2 separate regions of the Homo sapiens genome follow, and region 1 is linked to region 2. The links are contacts of gene promoters, found by promoter capture Hi-C in human tissues and cell types (Jung and others, 2019). All regions are on one chromosome and are shown on one strand. The core of a region is centred on a gene start or on the middle of the fragment in contact, and the rest is flanking DNA. Distances in the headings are between cores, read along the strand shown. Region 1 overlaps MMP2-AS1 (MMP2 antisense RNA 1). Region 2 holds the start of CES1 (carboxylesterase 1).

Region 1 (6,294 bases), core at 343-2,842, 390 kb after region 2:
GGACTACAGCTATGTGCCACTATGCCTGCCTTCTTTTTGTTTGTGGAGACAGAGTCTCACTATGTTGCCCAGGCTGGTCTCAAACTCCATGCAATCTTCCCACCTTGGCCTCTCAAAGTGCTGGGACTATAGTCACGAGCCACCACGCCCGGTGCCCACACCATGCATCTTGAGCCACCACGCCTGGCACCCACAGCATGCATCTTACCCCAGGCCACATCCCTAGGGAGAGCTGGGACCAGAGAAGACCTCCTGCCCTGCGAGCTTCTTTTGACCTTTGTATCTGGGGCAATCAGCAGAGGTGACTGTACCATGGCACCCCACACCCAGTCCAGTTGTGAGAGGAAGGAGGTGGAGAGGAGTAGGTAGACATAGTAAAATAAATGTCATGGAAGCCAAATTTAGAGGATATGGAGAATGTCAAAGTGAGAAGCTGGCAGGTCATTTGGTCTAATGCTCTTGTTTTCTCCATGGGGGAAAGTGGGGAAGTTGACAGTTTCAAGGACACGTAGTGGCCCTGGAAAGAGAGAAGGGTCATTACAGTGGTTGTTATGGTCATTACAGTAGACCAGATTCTGAGACCTAACGTGAACCCTGGGCTTCCCCATTTAGCACTGCTTTCCCCTGAAAGCTTCATTCACTTGTCTACCCAGGGCAAGGGGAACTCCTGGCCATGTGCCTGGGGGCCTTTGCTCTCTCTTCCTGCTCCTCCAGAATAACTTCCCTTTGGGTAATTTTTCCATTACACTGTTCCCCTTTGGACTTTCAGAAATAAAAACCCAGCCCCCCTGGTGTGCAGTCACACTTGCGCCCTGAGGAGTAGTTAAAATTCAGCTTGAGGGGCACTTAGTGTCACAGAAGCCTAGATAAAGAAACAAGATTTCAGGCAGGAAGAAATAATAAAGAGGCAGGACTTCAAGTGTCCTGTGAAACACAACATTCGGCCTCCGGCACACACATCCGTGGGAGACGGCTCAACTTCTTTATAAAGTGGTGAGTTCTGTGTGAGCACAGATGCATTTTGTTTTCCTATGAGGAATCAATGATTAAATTATCAGAAAGCTAAAAACCAGGCTGCCTGAATATTCCCCGACGTGTCCCCTGTGTCTCCCCAGCACCTCCTGCTCAGGAGGTACAGGCTTTATCTCCAAAGCTTTAGTTTAAATGTCCAACACATCTTATTAATGAAAGTAATAAGCTGTTGTTTATTATATGTCATGATGGGGAATATGACTATTTAATATAAACCTGACATTTAAATTCCACTTAGTTATGAGACGTGGACGATATCAAGGCATAACTCTTTACCCTGGAGTAAAAACTCCCTGGGTCTGCATTTTAAAGCATTGAAATTTTCAAAGTAATCAGGTTCCTTTTTTTTTTTTTTTTCCAGAGGAACCAAATTGTGAAGACATCTGTTCTGTTATTAATTTCACATACATCTTAAGCTCCTCAAGGCCAGAAATGAGGCTTCATTCACGTCGAATTAATGAAACATGATTGTAAGTCCCTTGCTTGGAAATGCTGTCACACAGTTCTGAGCTGCTTATAAGCACTGAGTAATCTCTGAAACTGCCAGGGGACGGCCACTTGAAATCTGCCCTCCCCTCCCCCTGCCACCCAAAAACAATATCTGAATATATCACAACACTAACTATATCCTGAAAGATTAATAGCAGATAAAAATTTCTGGGAAATGAATCAGACTTTCTCAGTAAAGGATACAGAGATCTCAGGCAAAAGCAGATTGCATAGTGGAAGAGCTCTTTGGGATACAGTTTAATAACTGTGCCCCAGGCTGCCCCTGAATACACCCAAAAGGACGATGGTGGGCCAGGAAGGGGGTGGGGAGTCTTGGAATTTCTTGCAGAGATGTCTTTTGAGGGTGTGTACGAAAATGTACTGGAGGTGACACAGATGTGAAACTGGAAACTTGATCTGCGAAAGCATGATGTATGTGTCAGGTGTGTGGGAGAATGTGTGTGCATATGGAAACTGTGTGTGAATGCATGCAGGAATGTGTATGAGTCTACTTACATGTGGGTGAGTATGTGTATATCAGTGTGTGAGTTCGCGCACGTATGAGTGTGAAAATGTGTGTGTTGTGAGTTTGTGTTGGTGACTGTGTATGAGGGTATGTGTGTATGAATATGGGTGAGTTTGCATGTGTGAAAATGTCTGTGTTGCAAGTTTTTATTGGTGAGTGTGTATGAGGGTATGTGTGTATGAATATGGATGAGTTTGCATGTGTGAAAATGTGTGTTGTGAGTTTGTGTTGGTGAGTGTATATGAAGGTATGTGTGTATGAACATGGATGAGTTTGCATGTGTGGAAATATGTGTGTTTCGAGTTTTCATTGGTGAGTGGGCATGAGGGTATGCGTGTATGAATATGGATGAGTTTGTGTGTGAAAATAATTTTGTGTGTCTGTGGATGCATATGAAGGTGTGTGTGTGTGTGTGTGTGTGGTGAGTGGATGCATTGACATGCACAGATCTCTCAGGACAGACAGGAATCAGTCAGTCCGGGCTGGATCTTAAATAGCAGCTCAGCACAATACCATGCCCATCTGAGCCAGTCTTGAAAGGAGCTTGCTCTTGAGGTTTTGGGTTTGGGGGGCTTGATTTTTTTTTTTTGTCAAATAACTGAAAATGCCAGCAGAAAGATTGTCTGGAGGGAGGCATGAGATGGGGAGCCTGAGATTTCTTAATCAAACTTTCAAGTGTTATTTTTGGTCTTCCGCTGAGCTGGGACCAAAAAAGAATCTGCATATGATATTTACATCTCAAATCTTCAGAGCCTCATTAGCTTTGATAGTTATTTATTTATTTATTTATTTGCAAAAAGGAATTTAAATCAAACAGAGAGGCACAAAAGCAAAACCTTTGAATGTAGTGCAACATTAATTAAAACAGGCAGCCGAAGGGTAGAGTGAAATACAATGGAATCCAGAAAAAAAAAAAGACAATGAAACTAATTAGACTCTGATGGGAAGATCCTTCCTCGTTTGGTGATCATCCATTGGTAATTAATAAGTCACAAATATTGATGTTTGAAGAAAAGTGCCAGAATTTTAACCCCTGTTTTTCCAGAAGTTTAAAAAAAATTTCTTTAGATTCTGATCTTCTAAACTAAATCAGTCAAATGATTGGATGTTGAATTTTACAGTCATGTGTTGGTGACGGATGGGGATGTGTTCTGAGAGGCTATTTCATCATTGTGCCAACCTCATACAGTGTACTTACACACACCTAGATGGTATAAGCTATATGGAATAGCCTTTTGCTCCTAGGCTACAAACCGGTATAGCATGTATCACACTGAATACTGTAGGTAATTGTAACACCGTGGTAAGCATTTACATATGTAAATATAGAAAAGGTCCAGTAAAATTATGGTATAAAAAGTAGAGAATGGTACACCTGTATAGGGCACTTACTGTGAATGGAGCTTGCAGCACTGGAATTTGTTCTGTGTGAGTCAGTGAGTGAGTGGTGAGTGAAGGTGAAGGCCCAGGACATTACTGTATACCACTAGAGACTTTATAAACACTGTAGACTTAGGCCATGCTAAATTTATAAAAAATAAAGTAATTGCACTACAGTATTACAATGGCTACCGTGTCACTAGGTGATATGAATTTTTCATCTCCGTTATAATCTTATGGGACCACTGTCATATATGCAGCCTGTCATTGACCGAAACACCATTACACAGCACAGGACAATATTGTGTTCTGGGGGAAACAGACTAGCCTATACCAGCAACTGGTTAGCTCTCAACACCTGTCCTCAAAATAATGTGCAGGTGGATCGAATTCAACTGTCAGCGGATAAAGATATATCTAATACAAGAGATGCTGGACTCCAGCAGTTAGCATTAACCCAGTGGTGGAACCAACTTGTATATATGAATGGATACAATCCCAGCTAGATTTTTGCCCCTGTATATTTTGAGGCTTTGTTGTATGATCCATGCTTTGTAGATCTGTGAAAAACATTTCCAGGCATCCAGTTGAAAAACCCTTGACCAACAGTATAAAAACGACTTTTAGCTTTGCCTAAGCATAAGGCAGCATCAAAGGGGTCTGGCTTCCTTTTGGGAAGTTCTTTTGAATGAAGTGATCAGTTAGTATTTATGCTTTTTGTCCTTCTGTATTATGCAACAGCACAAATGCACAACTGCCCCAGTGGGACAATCTAATGCATAGCCAGCCAGTCACACAGTTTTAAAGTTGGACGCATGTGTCTTTGGCACGTCCCAGGTCTCCTTTCAACTTCTTTCAGAATCTCTTTTTTACCACCCTCCAGCCCAGCGCTTGAGGTTCTCAGGATGACCCTGGGTCATTTCTAGCTTAAAGAGAGTGGGCTTTGAGAAATATCTTGATAAGTGTTAGTGCAATTTTTAAAGATGGCTAAAATGCTAATGGTGAAATTTCAGGCTTTGTGGCAGTTGGATGAAAGGAATGTTTTTGAGCAAAAGATCTTTCCAACGATCCCTCAAACCTACAATGCATAAAAGTGGACTTGTTTAGATAAGTCAGTAAATTATGCCTAATCTCAGTTTTCCTCCATGTAAAGAGGAAGAAATTAAACTAGAAGTAGAATGATCTTTAAGGTTTATTAAAGAGAGAGAGAGAGAGAGAGAGAATGGTTTGCCATGTGCAAAAAAAGGCAAGGCTCTTCCTTATAAGTAGCACAGGGATTCATTCATTCATTCATTCATTCTGTGTGTGTGTGTGTGTGAGAGAGAGATCTCTGGGCCAAACCCTATATCACAGTTCTTTCACATCATTTCACCTACCCCTTACAACAACCTTTGAGGTGGGTATTCCTAACAGGAGTGGTTGTCAATTTATTTAACTATCAATAAGCCACAGATACTTGCCAATCAGAAAGAACACTGAGTTAAACACTAGAACAGGGTCCTGGAGACCCCTGACTGTGCCAGGTATTTGTTGCTAGATGAGGAAAGAGGTGGGGAGGAGCCAGGGTGCCTGGCACAATGAAGGGGAGATTGGGAAGCTATTTGACAACTGGCCTGGGAAATGCTCTAATTTTTAAACTGCTGGTATGGATTTTGTACTATTGGATATGGCTGAACATCAGCCGTGACTTTCAATCTCCCCATTCTGCAAAGGACAAAGCTGAGGCCCTGGGAGGTCATGAAAGCTTCTCAAGATAAACCCATCAAAAAGCGACAGGCTTGAGTTGAAGGCTACTTTAAGTCTTTGAGACTCCAAAGTTGGTGTTCTTAACCATTATGCTGACTGTACACATGTCTCTAAGTTGACCTCAGTCTGTGCCAGGCTGGCCTGGCATTTCTCTACAAAGAACTGGAGGAAAGTGGATCGGAGGAAAGATCTGGTTTGAGTGGGAGTAGAGTTGGCCGATTTAGTAAGTAAAAATACAGGACACACAGTTAAGTTTGAATTTCAGATAAACAACAAATAATGCTTTTGTATATTTTTAGCTTATTGCACGGGATATATGTACACTGAAAATTATTCATTTTTAATCTGATGTTCAAATTTAACTGGACATCTTGCATTTTATCTGGCAACACTACGTGTGGAGGGAGGGTCACAGGGATGCTAAGACATTTCAAATACCAAGACACTTCAATCTGAAGAAACATTTTCTTTGCTAGGAACTCCCTTTTGCAAAGTCAATGATATCAGCTGTAGTAAGAACACTTCTAACCTTACCCTGAGTACCTCTTTGATTTTAAAGTCATAGAATGTCAAGGCAGAGGTCATTTAAGCCAATACCCTGCCTCACTGTCTTTCTGCCTCTTTCTGTCCTCTCTCTGCCCAAGAAGGCAGAACCCACAGCACCGGCGCTGTGGCTTGGCTTTGAAGCCAAGGAGCATAGCCCACGAGGCATGTCCTCATCTCCAAAGCACATGGAAACTATTCCTTTCCTGAAGGTCTTCATGGTTAGCCTGCTGCAAGTCTCATGGTTTTTCAGCTGCAGTTGTAATTTCTATAGCGCCTCCATCCCAGCTCAGCTGGTATTTATTAGAACACATTCTTTTTGAAAAGAAAACTGTTTCTTAATTAAAGGTTGGCAATCCATAGCCTGTTTGCAGATGAGAAAAATTAAGCAACTACTATGAACAGCGCAGTGTGTCTCCTCTGTTGGTTAGAACATTGCTGTCTAGACACGTGGAGTGTCTCCTGTGTTTTGGGCCGTCCCTGCATTTACATCTGAGTGCATTTTTTTTTTTTTTTGGTGTTGCACAACAAATACTAATGAACCATGAGACCAAATGGAAGAGATTTTGGAGTGAAAC
Region 2 (5,928 bases), core at 3,011-5,510:
CCTCTAATTTATGGCAGGTTATACAGGTCTTGCAGTTATGGAAATGGTATAAAGTCTCCTTTTTGAGTGAGCATGTTAAAGTAAAAAGAGTGCTTCATTTAAAGAAAACTGTTCATAGAAGTACAGACGATATGCTGATGAGGCAAAAAACCATGATATTAGTGTGAGAATAAGTGAGGTTCCAGAAACACTGCATATGCCCAGGCTGCAGTGGAGAATGTCGTAGAATCCTGGATTCATAGAGTGTGGAGCCACGGTGAAGGGTGCATGAGAGAGCCCCTCCCCCAGAGCCACCCCCTGCCTTTCCACAAGGAATTCCCAAATGTCACCCAGTGGATTCTCAGACTTCTGTCTCCCAGTTCAGTGTTCTCCACCACAAAATCTGCACCTGATCAATCCCATGGTTCAGAGACAAAGCTGAGTGAGGGGCCCAGCAGGACATGGGCTTGCTGTGCCCAATGCCTGCTCTAATACGAGCTTTCCATATATCTGCTGAGTAAACTGATGGAGGTGGAGAGGTTTGGGGGAGTTCATTTGAAGCCCCCAGATATGCTCACTCTCCCAAGTCCTACCCCCTGCTTAGAAGTTAAGGCCAGTTCCTCGGATTTTACTTTCCACATCATATAGTTCCACATGGGAAACCAGAGGGTGTTCCCCAGGGAAAACAATAATATCCCCCCCGCCCCCCACCAACCAACTGCCACTTAAACAAGAGACGTATTGCTTACAGCTGAAGTGTTGCAGGGGAGTTATATGTATTAAGCAAAAATTAGATCTATTGTAAGGCTTGGTAGGCTCCAGCCTCACCCATCACAATCTGCAGAGTCATCATGAAGCAGAAAAAGGTGTCAGAGGCTGCAGCCAGACCCAGGCAAAACCTAGGAGTGGCCAAAAAATTCTGTTTGCACAATTGGCTGGTGTCACAAGCGGGCATGTGATTGAGCAGTGGTTCAGGAGAAGAACTAATCCTTATCTTTTATATTTTGTGAACACAGCACCACAAAATCTTCATAGGCCAAGAGCCAGGGCTGTTTCCCAGGTTGCAAAGGTCAGCTGACTAGGGCAACAGGGCAGGATGGTTAACAGGCACGCGCATGCGTGCACATGTGTGTGTGTGTGTGTGTGTGTTGTGCTGAGTGAGTGGGACTAGCCTTGCTTTCTATTTAGGAGGACCTCCCAATTTGTCCCTTGTGGATAGAGATAGGGATGCTTTTTATTAGCATGCAGTTTATCAGCCAGATTTCTGTCCTGGATAAAAGTAAGGGAGGAACCCTAAAGCTCAGGTCAACCTTTGTAGAGTCAGTTAGCTCTGGGGACTGATTCTCATGCTGTCAGAGCATCCTCATTCCCATCACAGAATGCCCCTCACCAGCCTGCACGTGGCTAGAATGAGTGCTAATGAGCATGCCTTTTTGAATTTGGGTCTCCAGAAGTTTCATTTCAGCTACAACTCATGGCCTTGGGCAAGAATCCATCAGCAGCTCTGGGACTGTCATGTGATTTATGGCTGCTGGTTGCCCAATCTTTCCTGATGTCAATAGTGGTGTGGCCTGGACAAGGGCAGGCTTGCCAAGTGACATTGGGAAAATAGAACATAGCTCCCCAGGTACCTGGTACATGGCTCCCATCTTTGTCCCTTCCTTCCTTCCTTCCTTCCTTCCTTCCTTCCTTCCTTCCTCTCTCTTTCTTTCTTTGTCTCTCTCTGTCTTTCTTCTTCTTCTTCCTCTTCTTCTTTCTTCCCTCCTTCTCCTTCTTCTCCTTCCTCTTTTTCTTCTTCTTCCTTTCTCCTTATTCTTGTAGAGATAGGGTCTTACTATGTTTCCCAGGTTGGTCTTGAACTCCTCTCTCAAGCAATCTTCCCACCTTGGCTTGCCAAAGTGCTAGGATTACCGAGCGGGAAGGGTTGCCACAGTGCCCAGCCTCCCCTGGCTATTTCTATCCCTTCAGCCCTACCATGCTAAGCCTGGGTCAATGAGCTGACAAGGCAATTTGCCTTAGATAAGGCTACTGATTAGAATATCTTCCTGATGTATAAAAGCAAGAGAAATGGCTGCCAGCCACCCTGTGCTGGAAGGCAGAAGCCTCAAGTTCTGGTTCTGACTTTGCCATTGAGTTGCTGTGTGACCTTAGGCAATCCCTCCTCATCTCTGGGCCTTAGTTTCTTTTGGGAATAAATAACGGAATTGAGTTGAGCCTATGTATTAGTCTACTTAGGCTGCCAGAAGAAAATATCACAGACTGGGTGGCTTAAACAACAGAAATCAATTTAAGATCGTGAGACAGCATTAATCTCACGGGGTTATTTTGAGAACTGAGATCCTGCATACAAAACTCTCGGCATAGTGTTTGCCACACAGTAAGCTCTCAGTAAATATTTGTCAATGAATGTATGAAGGAATAAAAGTGGAAAATGCAAATAAGTGAAACACTGACAAGATTACAGCCAGGAAATGGCTGTTGTAATTCTAATTAGATATATAGACTTCCAGTATTTTCCTATGCAAATAAAGACATATGTTACTACCAAAACGGGACCATATTATACCTATCTAGATTTTCAAAAATATTTCATTATTTTATTGAAATATAAGTCACATGTCATAAAGTTTACCTTTTTAAAGTGTACAATCTAGTGGTGTTTAGTATATTCCCAAAGTTGCACTAACATCATCACTATTTAATCCCAGGACATTTTTACCACCCCCAAGATAAAACTCATGCCCATTAGCAGTCACTCCTCATCCCCGTCTCTTTCCCCTTCCCCAGACCCTGTCAAACACTTTCTGTCTCCATGGATTTGACTATTTTGGAAATTACATATAAAAAGCATCATACGACATGTGGCCTTTTGTGGCTGGCTTCTTTCCTTTACCATGATGTTTTCCAGCTTCATCCACGTTGTAGCATGTTCTTCTTATGGCTGGATGATATGCCTCTGCACGCATACACCACACTTCATTTACACATTCATCAGGTCATGGACATGCGGGTTGTGCCCACTTTTTGACTAGGATGAATGACACTGCTCTTTGTGTACAAGCTTTTGTGTGGACATGCTTTCAGTTCTCTTCGGTAGACACCTAGGAGGGGAATTGCTGGGTCATATGGAAACTCTGTGTTGAACTTTTTGAGGAACTGCCTACACCGCACAACAGTTTATAACCTATTATTTTCTCCTTTCACAACGCATCCTGTCTTCATTGTTAATAAATAGCTGTGCACATCACTATTTTGAGTGAATACATCGTATTTCCTTAGCCAGCGGTACCACAGTGTGTTTAGTGAATTCCCTATTGTTGGACATTTAATAATCCCATGAAAGAGGCTTTGAGTGACTTCCTTGTGTCCCCAGCAGCTTGTAAATGACAGTTTTCCAGGTGTGCCCAGAGCACTCTGTATCCCCTTAATTTGGTGATTTCACATTGCCTTGACATCACCCCTACTGCTCCTCCACCCCATCTGTCTTGTCTACAATGGTGAGCCCCTTGAGAAGCTGAACCATGTCTTGAATTGGTCTTTGTATCCATTATACATGGCCAGGTGCCAAGCATTTTGGTAAATGTTCACAAAATGGATGGGTACTTGGATGGATGGATGATAACAGCCAGGGACTATGGGGGGACGGAGTTCATTTTTACATTCTGTCCAAAAATCCCTGCTTTGGAAAGTAGTGAGTTCTCTGACACCGATGGTGTGTGACAGGAGGCTGGACCAGTTGGCAGGATATTGTGAAGCTAATTCAGGCCTCAGAAAGGGGACTCGATGAAATTTAAGATCGCTTCCAAGCTTGAGAGCCTGGAAAGCTATGAAAACACAAGCCCTGGGAGCTGAGATATGTCCTAACTTACCCAGCTGAGCTGTGAGGTGTGAGTGGCTCTAACATTTTCCAGTTGTTTCTGAGGACCTCAGATCAAAGCTTCCCTTTGCCTAAAAGCATCTGCCTGCTGGTGTGGGCCCTTGGGGGCCGTCACAGTGCACTGAGGTTAGAGTCCTGCAAGGGTGAACCCTTATGTAACAAGTAGTTGGGCAAGTTTACAGCTCTCTGTAATCTGACAGTAGAGTCCAGACTGGTTTGATGAAAGAGGGTAAACTGTGGGTGGGCGTGGCCTGAGGCCCCACTAGAAGCCCAGGGAGATCTGAGGAAAGGGAGGGCTTTTCTGATCTCTCCCAATTAGAGGATTAGGCAATTGGCAGCGCAGGGCGGTAACTCTGGGCGGGGCTGGGCTCCAGGGCTGGACAGCACAGTCCCTCTGAACTGCACAGAGACCTCGCAGGCCCCGAGAACTGTCGCCCTTCCACGATGTGGCTCCGTGCCTTTATCCTGGCCACTCTCTCTGCTTCCGCGGCTTGGGGTGAGTCCTTCTGAAATCAAAATGCGGGGCACTTTTTGAAATCCTTGTTCTGGGCCGAGGTGGGCGCAGATGCGTAGAAAGGCAAAGACACAACAGGTCCGGCTCTGCGGCGGGGCACGACTTCCATATTAGGACTTGGACTTGGAGCAGCTGAGCCCGGCCAGCCTGGCCCGCGCGGAGACGCAGGGAGGGTGAACATCCTGAGATCGCCCTGTACTGCTCGCCCAAATGCAGGCCGACAGCCGGCCCACCTCAGGCCGCACACACGAGAAATTTAGGCAGCTCAGTTTGCTGTCCCTTAATTAGTCCCCTTACGGCTGGATCACGGAGAGCGGCTCAACATAATATTAAGAGCATCGACTCTGGAGCCAGAGTGCGTGGGTTCGAGTCCCCGCTGGGCGCTTCCTCGCTGTGTGTCCTTAGGCAAGGGACTGCGCTATTCCGTGCTTGGGTTACCCCCTCTCTGAAACAGAGGTGGCAGTGCTGCCTACCTCACTGGGCTTTGGTGAGGAGGAAATGGGTGGCTGTTTCTAAAGCACTCTTGGCAGCGCCTGGTATGTAGAAAGCACGAAAAAGGGATGGATAAATAAAGGCGCTGTTTAAAAACGTAGTGTATGAATAGAAAATTTGAGCTGTGGTCAGGCCACTATATCAGGACCTCTTGCCATTAAAAAGACAGTTTCTTACTCATGTTCTCAACAGGAGGGGGACACCAGTGCGCGGGGCACAAGGGGAAGCAGCAGAGCCTGGGGAGGGGACAGGGCGGATCTGAGGCCAAGGGGCTTTTACTGTGGCTTCCAAGGATAGAAGAGGAAAGGCAGGGCAGGCAGGCTGAGGACTGGCAAGTTGGGATACTTCAGGGGCTCTGGGGCACAGGGGCTGTTCCTAATTGTTTTGTACCTAGCCCTGGCATGATTAGGGCAGGTGGGTAGTGGCCAGGGCATGGCAACCCGATCAAAGAGGCAGTTGGGGTGTGGGCTCTGGGGTGGCTGGACCCTGGGAGGGAGTTTCTCCAAGGTCAACAAGGCCTCAGATGCCAGAGCATCAGAATACAGAAAGCAAAACACATGGTACATAGAGGGGTGCAGCGAGGGGCCTCGAAATACCCCCATGCCATTTTATAGACAGAGAAACTGAGACTCACACAGGGAAATGTACTTGCCCAGGGTCAACCCGAAAATCACGCCTAGGTCTGTCTCTGGGTCCTGAATCCTGACAGCCCAGCCCCGTCTGCATCCTGTCTTCCTTCTGGCAGCCTGACACTGCGAGAGCTCTGGAACTGTGGGGAAGGGCAGAGAAGAGAGGAAGCCTATTTGGAACTGAATGTTCCTTTACCTCTGGTTACTCCTGGCAATGCCATCCATTTCCTTCCTTAGGAAGACCATACAGGCTGCCTCCACTTCCTCAGTTTCCTCCTCTGTAAAATGGGCATGTTGATGCCTACCCAGCAAGGCTTATTTGAAGATTAATTTAAAAAACTGGAATGCATGCCTGGCACATAGTAGGTGCCCACCATGTTCGTGCTTCATATAACATCAGCAGCAACTGGTCTTGTTCTCACACTTGTTTCTGCCTC

The links. Contacts are between HindIII fragments. The study calls those that stand out against the background at their distance.
Region 1: a fragment that was not itself captured here is called in contact with the fragment with the promoter of CES1 in region 2 in 2 of the 25 tissues and cell types used here (H1 embryonic stem cells and dorsolateral prefrontal cortex).

What each region holds. Positions count from the first base shown.
Region 1 is chr16:55,439,321-55,445,614 of GRCh38, reverse strand. It overlaps MMP2-AS1 (MMP2 antisense RNA 1), which reads left to right. Exons shown (of 7, transcript NR_147198.1): 4 at 1,394-1,502. Among named protein-coding and RNA genes, the nearest start is that of MMP2-AS1, 20 kb to the left of the region's middle. The HindIII fragment of the contact is 3,141 bases long and covers 22-3,162 here.
Region 2 is chr16:55,831,428-55,837,355 of GRCh38, reverse strand. CES1 (carboxylesterase 1) reads left to right here and starts at 4,260. Exons shown (of 14, transcript NM_001025195.2): 1 at 4,260-4,352. The coding sequence starts at 4,301. The HindIII fragment of the contact is 6,998 bases long and covers 3,414-5,928 here.